Linked DNA regions of Homo sapiens: all the other regions are linked to region 2. Evidence: promoter capture Hi-C in human tissues and cell types (Jung and others, 2019). All regions are on one chromosome and are shown on one strand. The core of a region is centred on a gene start or on the middle of the fragment in contact, and the rest is flanking DNA. Distances in the headings are between cores, read along the strand shown. Region 1 has its middle 130 kb from the start of KCNE4. Region 2 holds the start of KCNE4 (potassium voltage-gated channel subfamily E regulatory subunit 4). Region 3 has its middle 190 kb from the start of KCNE4.

Region 1 (3,943 bases), core at 477-2,976, 130 kb after region 2:
ATTTTTAAAGCAGCAGTGGATTTGGCATGTATTAATATATTTAAACGAAATCAGAAAAGTTATTCTACTTGTACTGAGATAATATAAAATCCATAGTAAAAGGCTAATCCACATTTAATTTATGACAAATGGAGGCATGGCAGAATCATGGGGAAAAGATGGTCTTTTCAATAAACAGTGTTGAGTGAATTAGATATGCTTATGTAAAAAAGGAAATTTGAACCCTACACCACATAGAAAATCAATTACAGATGCATTTAAATTTAATTATAAAAGTAAAACAATAAAGCTTCTAAAGGATAATATAGGAAAACATATTCCTAATTTTGAGGCATGGAAAGATTTTTTAAATAGGATACAAAACCACTAATATCACGGGAAAATCAAATAAATTACATTAAAAGATGATTTTTTTGTTCTTCAAAGAACGCTGCTGAGAAGGTTAGAGAAAATAAGCAATAAGGTGGAAGATGATAGTTGCTATATATAAACCAACAATGGGCTTTATACAGGATGAATAAAGAATTTCTACAAATTCAAAAAAAGAAAGACAAGCCAACAAAAATGGAGGGGGAACAGATGTCAACAGCCACTTCACAAAGGAGGGTTTAAAAATAATCAATAGGCATTTGAAAAGGTGCTCACCCTCATTAACAATAGGAAATATAAATGACAACCATGATGAGATATTTCAATGAGTCACCTCTAAAGAATAATCAGACTAGGTAAAATAACAAAGAATGACCTGGCCGGGCGTGGTGGCTCATGCCTATAATCCCAGCTCTTTGGGAGTCCGAGGTGGGTGGAACACTTCAGGTCAGGAGTTTGAGACCAGCCTGGCCAACATGGTGAAACTCCATTTCTACTAAAAATACAAAAATTAGCCGGGCATGGCTGTGGGCACCTGTAATCCCAGCTACTCAAGAGGTTGAGGCAGGAGAATTGCTTGAACCCAGAAGGCGGAGTTTGCAGTGAGCTGAGATTCCGCCACTGCACTCCAACCTGGGCAACATAGTGAGACTCCATCTCAAAAAAAAAAAAAAAAAGAAAAAAAAAAGAATTAGCAAGCTGTAATATGTTAATACAATGCAGTAGCATACAGCAGTGAAAATTAATCTATAGGAACACACAACCACTAGATAAATCTGCAAAACATAGTATTAAGCAAAAGAAGTCATACAAATAAGAAAACATCTTATGTGACTTTACTTGAACTTCAAAAATTAGGCATGAGAAATCTAAGGAGCTAAAAGTCAGGTGCATAGTTATGTGTGGGGAGGAGGAAGTCAGTGTTCTATATCTTGATCTAGGTGATGATTGCACAGGTATATTCACCATGTAATAATTCATTGATCTATATACTTATAATTTGTGCTTTCTATTCTGAATATATGATAGTTTACTTTTAAAATTTTTAAATGATTTTCAATTTCCCAGGGGAAGATTTGTTTTGAAGACACCTTGAGAATGGTCAATATGTAATTACCTTAGTTCCCTAACTTTTATCTTATACTCCACCTTGGGGCTGAGAGGGAAACGTGAAAAATTTGAATTCTTAACACTATCTGTAGTTCTTAGATTTCATAATCGTCCCAGATTTTTTACTTTCAGATAATCCCTTGCTTGTATTTTCCAACAATACATGATAAATTATAGACAAATACAATCTCATTTTCTCCATTTAAACTAATGTCTTTATTGCCAATCATTTCTGAACCAGCCAACTGTGGTAGAACTGATGAAATAGTATCCCACTTATAATAAATATGTGTTTTTCATTAAAGAGACCCAGACAATCTTGTTTTATTTCCTGCAAACTGATGTGATTTGTTTCTTCATGAAGTTAGAAACTGCTACAGAGCTAATTTATAATAAAAATTAGGAAAAAGTATTTAGCCAAACTTTCAAAAGGCATTTTCCTACCAGGGCATATGTTGAACAAACTGAATCTGTAGCTACTTTTTTGGATTATCTTAATCCAGCATCAAAGGGGTCAGTGGGGCAGGTCTAACAGGTCCATGATGGCTTAGGTCTTTGATTAGAGACTTAAGTCAGCAAGCTTGGAAGGAAAAGATGCCTGAATTTAATTTTGTCTTTCCATGGCAATGGCTGGCTTTGACTTCTCTTCAGTGGTACTTCTGGTTGTTCTGTTAGAGTTTTTGATTTCCCAAACCAAAGTGATGGTGGGGAGACCATGAAAGTACCTAAGCCCAGACTGCAATATCAATAAACATCCTCAAAGCATTTGTAGGCAGGTGGTAAATGGTTCACCTTTGAGTTATAAACTACTAGAAGAATGCTTGTGTGTATAGGAAGAGGACTTCAGGAGCTTGTCTAGGCATGTCATCTTTCTAGGTTTTGCTGGGACTGCATGAAGCCAGATTTCAAGTTCTTTTAGCAGTCCCACTGACAAGATTGGGTTATCTCAAAAAAGGCAGGCAGATTCCCATGATGCTGGAGCCCTTCACAGAGAGATTTTGTTGGGACGACAGCCACTTTTCTCACCAAATTCCAGCCCGGCTTCCGAGTGTTACCAGCGGCAAATCTGTGGGAGTCTGCAGCAAACTTGAGCCTTGCCTCCTCAGAGGAGAGAATTTGACCGATGGGCAGAAGTAAGTTTAAGGCAGAGGGAAAAATCAAGGCAAGTTTTTAGAGCAGGAGTGAAAGTTTATTAAAAAGTTTTAGAACAGGAACAAAAGGAAGTCAAGTACACCTGGAAGAGGGACAAGCAGGTGACTTGAAAGATCCAAGTGCCCTGTTTGGCCCTGGGCTTGGGGTTTTATGCAGTGGCATGGTTCTGGGGTTTGTTTCTCCTCCCTTGATTTTCCCCTTGGGGTGGACTGTGCACATCCACAGTGGCCTGCCAGCACTTGGGAGGGGCTGCATGTTCAGTGTGTTTATTGCAGTTGTGTGCATGTTCACTTGAGGCATTTTTCCCTTACCAGGTGAGTGTTCCCAGAGGAAGGTCATCTACTGGTTAAACTCTGCCATTTCACCTCTTCATGCACATCCTTGAGCCTGCTTGCCCTGGTCTTGAGATCTTATTGGGAAGCTGCTGCTCACCAGGTTCAGGTGTTTTCTATCTATTGAGAGACTTTTTTTTTTTTTTTCTGGCACTGGCTATGACAAATTATTATTTTACAGAGAGAGTCTAACAACCAACAGCCTGATCATCCAGGATGGTTACCTGACATTCCTAAGGGAGGAGGGCCTCTCTTGCCCTGCTCAAGTCTGCCTAATTATCTACTCTGGCTCAATGTGCCACTGCCCTCTTGCTTAGCATGAGGCTTTCCTTTTCTCCAACTCATATTTGAAGGTCCTTCTTATTCAAAATTTGATCCAAACATCAGCAGTGTCTAACTGGGGATTTGTTGGAAATGCTTTCAGTTAATCTACAGATTTTGAAATTCTGTTAATTGCTTCAAAAGATGGAGGAAATCCCTACATCAGAGAGTTTTGACACTGTTAGTCACTCACTGGTTAAATAAAAATGTTATATTTAAACCCCTATTTTGGGAGTTGAAACATAGAACATTATTTGAAAAGTTATACATGGGCTTCAGATATATTTTGCACCTAGTTTCATTTTTCTGGAATTTGCAGAAGGGATTATTATGTGATTCTAGGGGCAGAAAAATAAATTTCATGAATTTCACTCAAGTCCGTGTGAAGAGATCACCAAACAGGCTTTGTGTGAGCAATAAAGCTGTTTATTTCACCTGGGTGCAGGTGGGCTGAGTCCGAAAAGAGAGTCAGCGAAGGGAGATAGGGGTGGGGCTGTTTTATAGAATTTGGGTAGGTAAAGGAAAAAGTGGGGTTGTTCTCTGAAGGGCAGGAGTGGGGGTCACAAGGTGCTCAGTAGGGGAGCTTTTGAGCCAGGATGAGCCAGGAGAAGGAATTTCACAAGATAATATCATCAGTTAAGGCAGGAACCCACGATCTG
Region 2 (4,058 bases), core at 515-3,014:
TCCTGCTCCTTGAATCTGGTAACTCCTATCCCCACCTCCTTTCTGCCTACTCAAAGCTTCCAGTCTTTGGTGTTGGACAATCCCTGGATGATGACCAATCTCGTATGTCCTAAGGTATACAATAAAAAATACCAGGGTCAACAATCAACAGGCATCTCTTTCTTGGGCCCATCTTGTTCTAGTGTCCCAGACATTCCAGTGTAGGCTTAGATATAGATGGAAGTGTTCTAGTGTTTATGATGGACACCTGTTGAAAAGACCAAGTCTACCATGGCTGAGGTAGCTATGGAGGGTTTTACGTATTAACACAATGGTGAGGGTATCTTTACTGGTGTGAGCACAGTTCCACTGTATGGATGATCGTGATGCTGGAGTGGTCGATGGTTGGTACCTCCAGTGCCAGCTGGGGATTTATGGATGAACACAGGTGAGTAGTCAAGTGGGAAAAATGGCAGCATTCAGTTCATCTTCCTATTCTTCCTCCAGGTGTCTTCTTAGAATCAGGATCAGGTGCAAACCCAGGGGGGTTCCTGTAGCAGCAGTGAAAATTCCAGTGCCTAAGCTATATATGTTCAAGCAGGTCAGGTGGATGTCGCATGCGTCAGTTTGACTACAGCAGAACCATGAGAGATGTTTCCTTTAGAGTTGGCCCACAAGACAGTCTGGCTGCAATCCACAGGCCACAGACAACTGGAGGGAGTGGATCTCTCCCAGTTTCCTTCCACTTAGCATGAAAGCCTCAGAATAAGCAGCCCAGGGAGCAGAGAGACTGACATTAAAGCCTGCAATTCCTCTTCCAATTTTGATCACAGCAGCCATTTAAACACAGGGTCTACCGAGGTTTAAAAAACTTGAACTGTGCTTAGTTGCACTCTGAAATAGTCCTGCTCCTCCCCTGACCTACGAGAGACAGCAAAGAGACGTGTCAATAGCCTCCGCATGAGGCTTCAGAGGAGCAGCTGTGTATGGCAGGACGGAACAAAACCTGCCCATAGTATCTTTTACGACAACATGTTTCCACTTAATGCAGACCACTGAAAAGAATGTGGGAGCTTTTAAAAAAAAATTATTATAAACATAGGTTTGTGACCTTGATGTGGAAGGCAGCTAGAATCTCTGCTTTTAGAGGGCTAAGCAACACCAGGCAGCCTTCAATCTTAGAAGGGTTAAGCTGAAAGGGTCTCAAAAGGTCACGTGGTTTATATAATCCTACCTGCAGAAGACCCCCCCCCCCGCCAGGCACAACGATTTTACAGACGAGGAATGTGAGGTGCGGAGAGGTTAAGGAAGGATTTATCTTATTTGCATAAGGAGTGGAAGAACTGAAACCGAAGCCCCAGTTCCTTGACTGTAAATCCCGCACTTGCTTCCAACTGTCTTTCATCCAGATTATGGGATTCAGCTGCCTCTGAAAACCTGTAGCCCAATAATGGTTATTCCCCAGGAGCCGCGCGAAGCATGAGCTAATTTTCAGTGAGCGCGGACTTTGGGGTAACGGTTCCAGCACAGCACATCCCTTTCTCCTCTTTTCACTCATCGTCACCGCTACCTGAAAACCCTGGCCGGGTGCTGGGGCTTGAGGAGCAGTTCCCACTTCCCAGTCTTTTTCACTTTTCACAGCTGCAAAGTTCAGGGAGTTGAACTGCAGTGCTTTCAGTTCACTGCTCACTCTGCCACGATCAATCTCTGTTGTAAATTTTCCTCCCAGAGCACGTGACGATGCACTTCTTGACTATATATCCCAACTGCAGCAGCGGAGTTGTCAGAGCGCAGAGCCGGACAGAGCAGAAGAACCCTCTTGGACTGGACGATTTGGGAATTCAAAACTTGGGACAAACTGTCAGCCTTGGTAAGTCAGCAAGGCTACACTTTGCTTTCAGAAACATTTGAAAGAGGGACATTTTTGCCAATTAATAGATGAATTTTTTTCCTTTATTTTCTTCCTGCTTTTCTTTGTTCTAAGGAAACATTGTTTTGAATTTAAAATAGTTTGGTTTTGGAAACACAATGTAAACTTTGTTTCTGCTCAGTTAAAATACGTTTCCCAGTTTTAAAGATACTATTTACTGTATGCTCCTGTCTTACATTGATTTTTTTTTTAATCAAAGTAATACTGCTCACTACAAACAGGACAAATGTGTACACTAAAAAAAAAAAAAAAAGTCCTTCTTACTTTTCCCAGTGAACCTTCCCGGGCTTCTCTCCCGTGCACTCCAAGCCCTCATAGCTCACTCTTGTCAGCTGTTTGGCGAACCCTCTTATGCTATTTCTTTCATGCACTTTTAAGCTTTTTTGGTATTGCAGTTCCACAAACCTCGTGCTCCCCCACCTCCCTGTGCCCAGGACCTGGGGGAGAGTTCTAACCTGCGGCTTTTTCCCCAGCCCCTGCTGTGGAGGCAGCCTCAATGCTGAAAATGGAGCCTCTGAACAGCACGCACCCCGGCACCGCCGCCTCCAGCAGCCCCCTGGAGTCCCGTGCGGCCGGCGGCGGCAGCGGCAATGGCAACGAGTACTTCTACATTCTGGTTGTCATGTCCTTCTACGGCATTTTCTTGATCGGAATCATGCTGGGCTACATGAAATCCAAGAGGCGGGAGAAGAAGTCCAGCCTCCTGCTGCTGTACAAAGACGAGGAGCGGCTCTGGGGGGAGGCCATGAAGCCGCTGCCTGTGGTGTCGGGCCTGAGGTCGGTGCAGGTGCCCCTGATGCTGAACATGCTGCAGGAGAGCGTGGCGCCCGCGCTGTCCTGCACCCTCTGTTCCATGGAAGGGGACAGCGTGAGCTCCGAGTCCTCCTCCCCGGACGTGCACCTCACCATTCAGGAGGAGGGGGCAGACGATGAGCTGGAGGAGACCTCGGAGACGCCCCTCAACGAGAGCAGCGAAGGGTCCTCGGAGAACATCCATCAGAATTCCTAGCACCCCCGGGACCCCTGCCGGTGGCTCCATCAGCCAGCAACCTTAGAGAGAGGAAAGACAGTTTTCAAGTGTCTGGTTTCACTTTCACAGTGCGGCTGCCACTTTGAAGAGACCCTTGGTAAACCCCTGATTCGGGGTGGGGTGGGGGACTAGGCTCAGCCGGAACCAGCACCTCCAAGGAGTCCGGGAGGTGCCTGTGGTTTGCACCCACCACTGAAAAAGCCGCGGAGATGCGCAGCGCGTACACTGACTTTGGGGCCTGGGTGTTGGGGTTCTGATCAGAATTTGGCGGGATGATATGTTTGCCATTTTCTCACTGGATGCCCTGGGTAGCTCCTGCAGGGTCTGCCTGTTCCCAGGGCTGCCGAATGCTTAGGACACGCTGAGAGACTAGTTGTGATTTGCTATTTTGCCTAGAGCTTTGTCCTTCTAGATCTGATTGGCTGTAAGTATCTCTACTGTGTACCTGTGGCATTCCTTCACAGTGGGTTACAAGCTTCTTTTGGATTAGAGGGGGATTTTTGATGGGAGAAAGCTGGAGATCTGAACCCAGCCCATTTGCACACTATAAGAAAAAAAAGTAACTTTTAAACCTGTTAACATTGGCCGGGGTTATAAGAGATGATCTTCTATTTTGACCTTTTGTCTAACTTATGACCTTGAACTCTGACCTGTGACCATGCAGCATCACATGATGGCATGACGTTCTTTGGATCAGAAGAGCTTCCCCAGAATCTAACCTGCACTCCCGATGGTGGTTCAGGAGACTCTTCCTGATCTTTCTAGAAGGGGTAAAGTGGGGTTGAACAAGGCCAAGCCGTTAGCTCTGCTGCTGCTCAGTTTCCCAGCCTAGTTTTCTGAGCTGGGAGAGGACATAATGTGGTATTTCGTCACGTAGCTGAGACCTAGAAGGGCATACTCAGGCGGAGATTGCACAAAGCTGGGCTCCAAGTTCTGTGCTTCCTGATCCCGAGCCCTGACACTCATTTGCTGTGTGGTCCCGGGCATGTCATCAAGAAGCTCGCTGTCTGCATGAGGCTCCCGACGATCTCCATCCCCAGGGGGTTGGGAGGATGTCTTTAGATTTTAGGACTCTGTGATAAATATTCCACAGCCTGGTGTGAGGAAGCTTGGACCAAA
Region 3 (4,051 bases), core at 484-2,983, 190 kb after region 2:
TCTCATTAGTTTCAAAGAACTTCTTGATTTCTGCCTTAATTTCATTATTTACCCAAGAGTCATTCAGGAGCACATTATTCAATTTCCACATAGTTGTGTGGTTTTGGGTGAATTTCTCAGTCTGGATTTTGAATTTGATTGTGCTGTAGTCTGAGAGACTGTTTGTTATGATTTCAGTTCTTTTGCATTTGCTGGGGAATGTTTTACTTTCGATTATGTGATCAATTTTAGAGTAAGTGCCATATGGCAATGAGAATAATGTATATTCTGTTGAATTTGGGTAGAGAATTCTGTAGATATCTATCAGGTCCACTTGATCCAGAGTTCAGTTCAGGTACTTAATATCTTTGATAATTTTCTCTCTCTATGATCTGTCTAATATTGTCAGTGAGGTGTTAAAGCCTCCCACTATTATTGTGTGCAAGTCTAAGTCTATTTGAAGGTCTCTAAGAGCTTGCTTTATGAATCTGGGTGCTCCTGTATTGGGTGCATATATATTTAGGATAGTTCGCTTTTTTGTTGTTGAATTGAACTCTACCTTTATGTCCTTTATGTAACTCACTTTTTTGTCTTTTTTGATGTTTGTTGGCTTAAAGTCTGTTTTGTTAGAAACTAGGATTGCAACCCTTGCTTTTTTCTGTTTTCCATTTGCTTTGTAAATTTTCTTCCATCCCTTTATTTTGAGCCTATGTGTGTCTTTGCATGTGAGACGGATCTCTTGAAGACGGCATACTGATGGGTCTTGGTTCTTTATCCAGCTTGCCATTCTGTGTCTTTTAATTGGGGGCAGTTAGCCCATTTATATTTAAGGTTAGTATTGTTATGTGTGGATTTGATTCTGTCATCATGATGGTAGCTGGTTATTTTGCAGACTTGTTTACATGGTTGCTTCATAGTGTCACTGGTTTGTGTGCTTCAGTGTGTTTTTCTAGTGGTTGGTAACAGTTTTTGCTTTCCATATTTAGTGCTTCCTTCAGGACCTCTTGTAAGGCAGGTCAGGTGGTAAAAAATTTCCTCAGCATTTGCTTACCTGCAAAGGATCTTATTTCAAATTAAACTTCATAAGTGAAAGAGAAATAAGATCCTTTCAGACAAGGAAATAATGAGGAAATGAAATATGAAATTTGGTGTTAGAAATTTTTTTCTTTAAAAATGTTGAATATTGGCCCCCGATCTCTTCTAGCTTATAGGGTTTCCACTGAGAAGCCTGCTGAGAGTGGCTGGAGGCCCTGGCTGGGAGGCTCCAGCTGGGAGGACCTGTCCCATGAAGAGGAGTGGATTGGGGTCACACTTAAAGAAGCAGTCTGGCCATGCCTTGACAAAAGAGCTATGTCTTGGTGGGGAACTGCTTCTGCCCCTCTTGACTTGGACTCTCCAAGGCCCACAAGTTGAAACGGCTGAGTCGTCCAACTAACCCAGGTGGCAGCCCTCCCCTCTCCAAGGCACTCCATCCCAGGGAGAGATCAGAGCTCAGTCCACAGTCTGTGTGGGTAGGTGGGGCTGGAGGGCCTGGCTGGGAGGTCCCACTCAGTGAAGGAGAATGGATCAGGGCCCCACTTAAAGAAGCAGTCTGGCCATGATCTTACAAAGCTACTGTGCTGTGCTGCTGGGGGGACCCTTCCTTGTCAGAACCACCTGGACTCTCCAAAGCCCACAGGCTGGAATGGCTGAGTAAACCAAACAGCAGAGATGGCACCCAACCCTCCCCTTAGGGTCTCTATCCAGTCTCAGGCAGCCTCTATTCTGTTGCCTGTGTCTGGCTGGAATTCCAAGCCAGTGGGTCTTATCTTGTGAGGTGCCGTAGAAGTGGGGCCTGGAGAATGACACTGCTCAACTCCCTGGATTCCACCCCCTTGCAAAAGGTATATGTGGACCTCCCACCTTGCCTGAGTTCCAGACCTGGATCCCCAGGGATCCTGGGGCTGGAGTATACAAAGCTCCTGGATCTCTGTGTTTGCCTGAGCAGCTACTCTGCCAAGACTCCACACAGTTCTGTATGTTGGAACCAAGCCCCTGGTGGCATGGGTTCACAAGGGGATCTCCTGATCTATGGGTTACAAAGACCTGTAGGAAAAGTGTGGTTTCCTGGGGTTGCACAATAACTCACCAATTCCCTTGGCTGGGGGTAGGGGTTCCCTTGGTGCTGTGTTATTCCTAGGTGGTCTGTCATCCCACCCTGCTTTTCTTCATTCTCTGTGGGTGGAGTTGTTTCCCTAATCAGTCCTGGCATAAGAACCTGGATATTTCAGTTGAAGGTGTCATAGTCACTGTCCCATTTCGTTCCTCCCCATGAGTGTCGTGGACCACAGCTGCTTCTAACTGGCCATCTTAGTCCCTCTCCCTATTTTTAAAAATAATGTTTTATTTGCATGTAGCAAAATTTAAATTGATAAACTTGGTTTCACTAACATGAAATAGACTACATTTACTTATTTTAATGGACTTTGTTTCTTAAAATCTTTTTGTCAAATAATGGTACTTTACACTGTGGGAAGTCTTTGGTGTTCTAGTTAATGATGAAGAAGACAGATATTTCATAAATTTATCACTAAATGTGGTTTAAAATGTTTCTTCTTTTCTGGAGTGTATGTATGCCACCACCAGATGGGGGCAGAGTGATGCAGTGAGACTGGGGAAGAGCACTGTTCGGAAACAACATGGTGGAAATCTAGTTGACTGAAGAGCTTCATGTGTATAAACTCAAGATGTTTTGTTTTATAAATTTCCTTTTATGTAAGCGTAACAAAATATAATAAAATGTAACTACTTAGAGCGAATAAAAAAGTATTCTCCTTAGAAGCCAGATCTGCTGTGACCCATCTGTTTTGTTGCATTTTAGTAGTAATTAAGATCTGAGTTCTTCAGAAGGGCTACAAGAATTGGAATCTAAGCTCTCCTATTACAGTAGTGTTATCTCCTGGCTACTCAACTATTTAGGCCTCAGTTTTTTCATCTTCAGTGAAATGGGATTAATAATGGTTCCTATCTCTCTATATTGTGGTGAGGGCAAAATGAAATAATGTTTGTGGTGAGTAGAGCATAGAGTAACGTTTGATGTATGTTAGTCCTTATTGTTCTTATGGATTCTCTGGTCAGCTACCTCCTTTTGTCCCTTCAAACTCCTAAATCTTGCTTAGAATGCTAGCTTTTATAATTCAATCAAATTAGGTGCATTGTAGCTTTGTGGCAAGTAATGGTCTTCATTTCTGTATAAAAATTATATTTTAATCTGTTGGTCTCTTATATATAAGAGTGTTCTAAATATGAGCCCCCAATCAAAAACCAGAAGCTCTTAACTAAAGATACTGATTTACTGTTAAAATGCTTCTCACGTAGGAAACTCTATGCAGTGATGTGTAACAGGAATTTATTCATTAATGATGGTTAGGGATTCTCTATAGCAGCTCAGAATAAAGGTGGGTCGTGAATGAATAAAAAATTCTATGTACATAGTCTGTAAGGGGAAAATAAGGGTATAGAGAAAGCTTAGGAATAAGATAGGCTTACATTATCATCTCCCCTGGTGGTTAGATATTCTTGGGGTAAACCAATTAGCGATTTAGCTTCAATTTCTTCGGTCACAAAATTACAGCAAAAATACAATACTTAATGCAGATGCTCTCAAAATGTCACTTTATTTACCTTTCACCCACAACCAATTTGCTTTTCCTTTTATTATTTTTGGTCATGACTGGAGTGACCACATAATTTGTAGTTCAAATTGGGACACTTTTGAGAAGGAAAGAGTGTGCTAAAAATAATTGAAATTATTATTACTATTTTTTATAAGACATGGGGGTCTTGCTATATTGCCCAGGCTAGAGTTTAGTGGCTAATCACAGGAGTGATCCCACTACTGATCAACACAGGAGTTTTGACCTGCTCCATTTCCGACCTTGGCTGATTCATCCCTTCTTGGGCAATTTGGTCCGCTCCTGGGAGGACACCATATTAATGCCAAACTTAGGGCAAACACCTGATTGGCATACTGTACTACAGCCCAGATCTCTTGGACTCAGGAGATCCTCCTGCCTCAGCTTCCCAAGAAACT

What was found. Contacts are between HindIII fragments. The study calls those that stand out against the background at their distance.
Region 1: a fragment that was not itself captured here is called in contact with the fragment with the promoter of KCNE4 in region 2 in 2 of the 25 tissues and cell types used here (H1 embryonic stem cells and thymus).
Region 3: a fragment that was not itself captured here is called in contact with the fragment with the promoter of KCNE4 in region 2 in 3 of the 25 tissues and cell types used here (liver, mesendoderm cells and thymus).

Annotation. Positions count from the first base shown.
Region 1 is chr2:223,185,120-223,189,062 of GRCh38, forward strand. No RefSeq gene overlaps it. Among named protein-coding and RNA genes, the nearest start is that of KCNE4, 130 kb to the left of the region's middle. The HindIII fragment of the contact is 5,685 bases long and covers 1-3,943 here.
Region 2 is chr2:223,050,426-223,054,483 of GRCh38, forward strand. KCNE4 (potassium voltage-gated channel subfamily E regulatory subunit 4) reads left to right here and starts at 1,765. Exons shown (of 2, transcript NM_080671.4): 1 at 1,765-1,849; 2 at 2,383-4,058. The coding sequence starts at 2,406. The coding sequence ends at 2,918. RefSeq lists an enhancer at 2,073-2,620. The HindIII fragment of the contact is 5,924 bases long and covers 1-2,850 here.
Region 3 is chr2:223,244,713-223,248,763 of GRCh38, forward strand. It overlaps the pseudogene RN7SL807P. Among named protein-coding and RNA genes, the nearest start is that of KCNE4, 190 kb to the left of the region's middle. The HindIII fragment of the contact is 5,048 bases long and covers 1-4,051 here.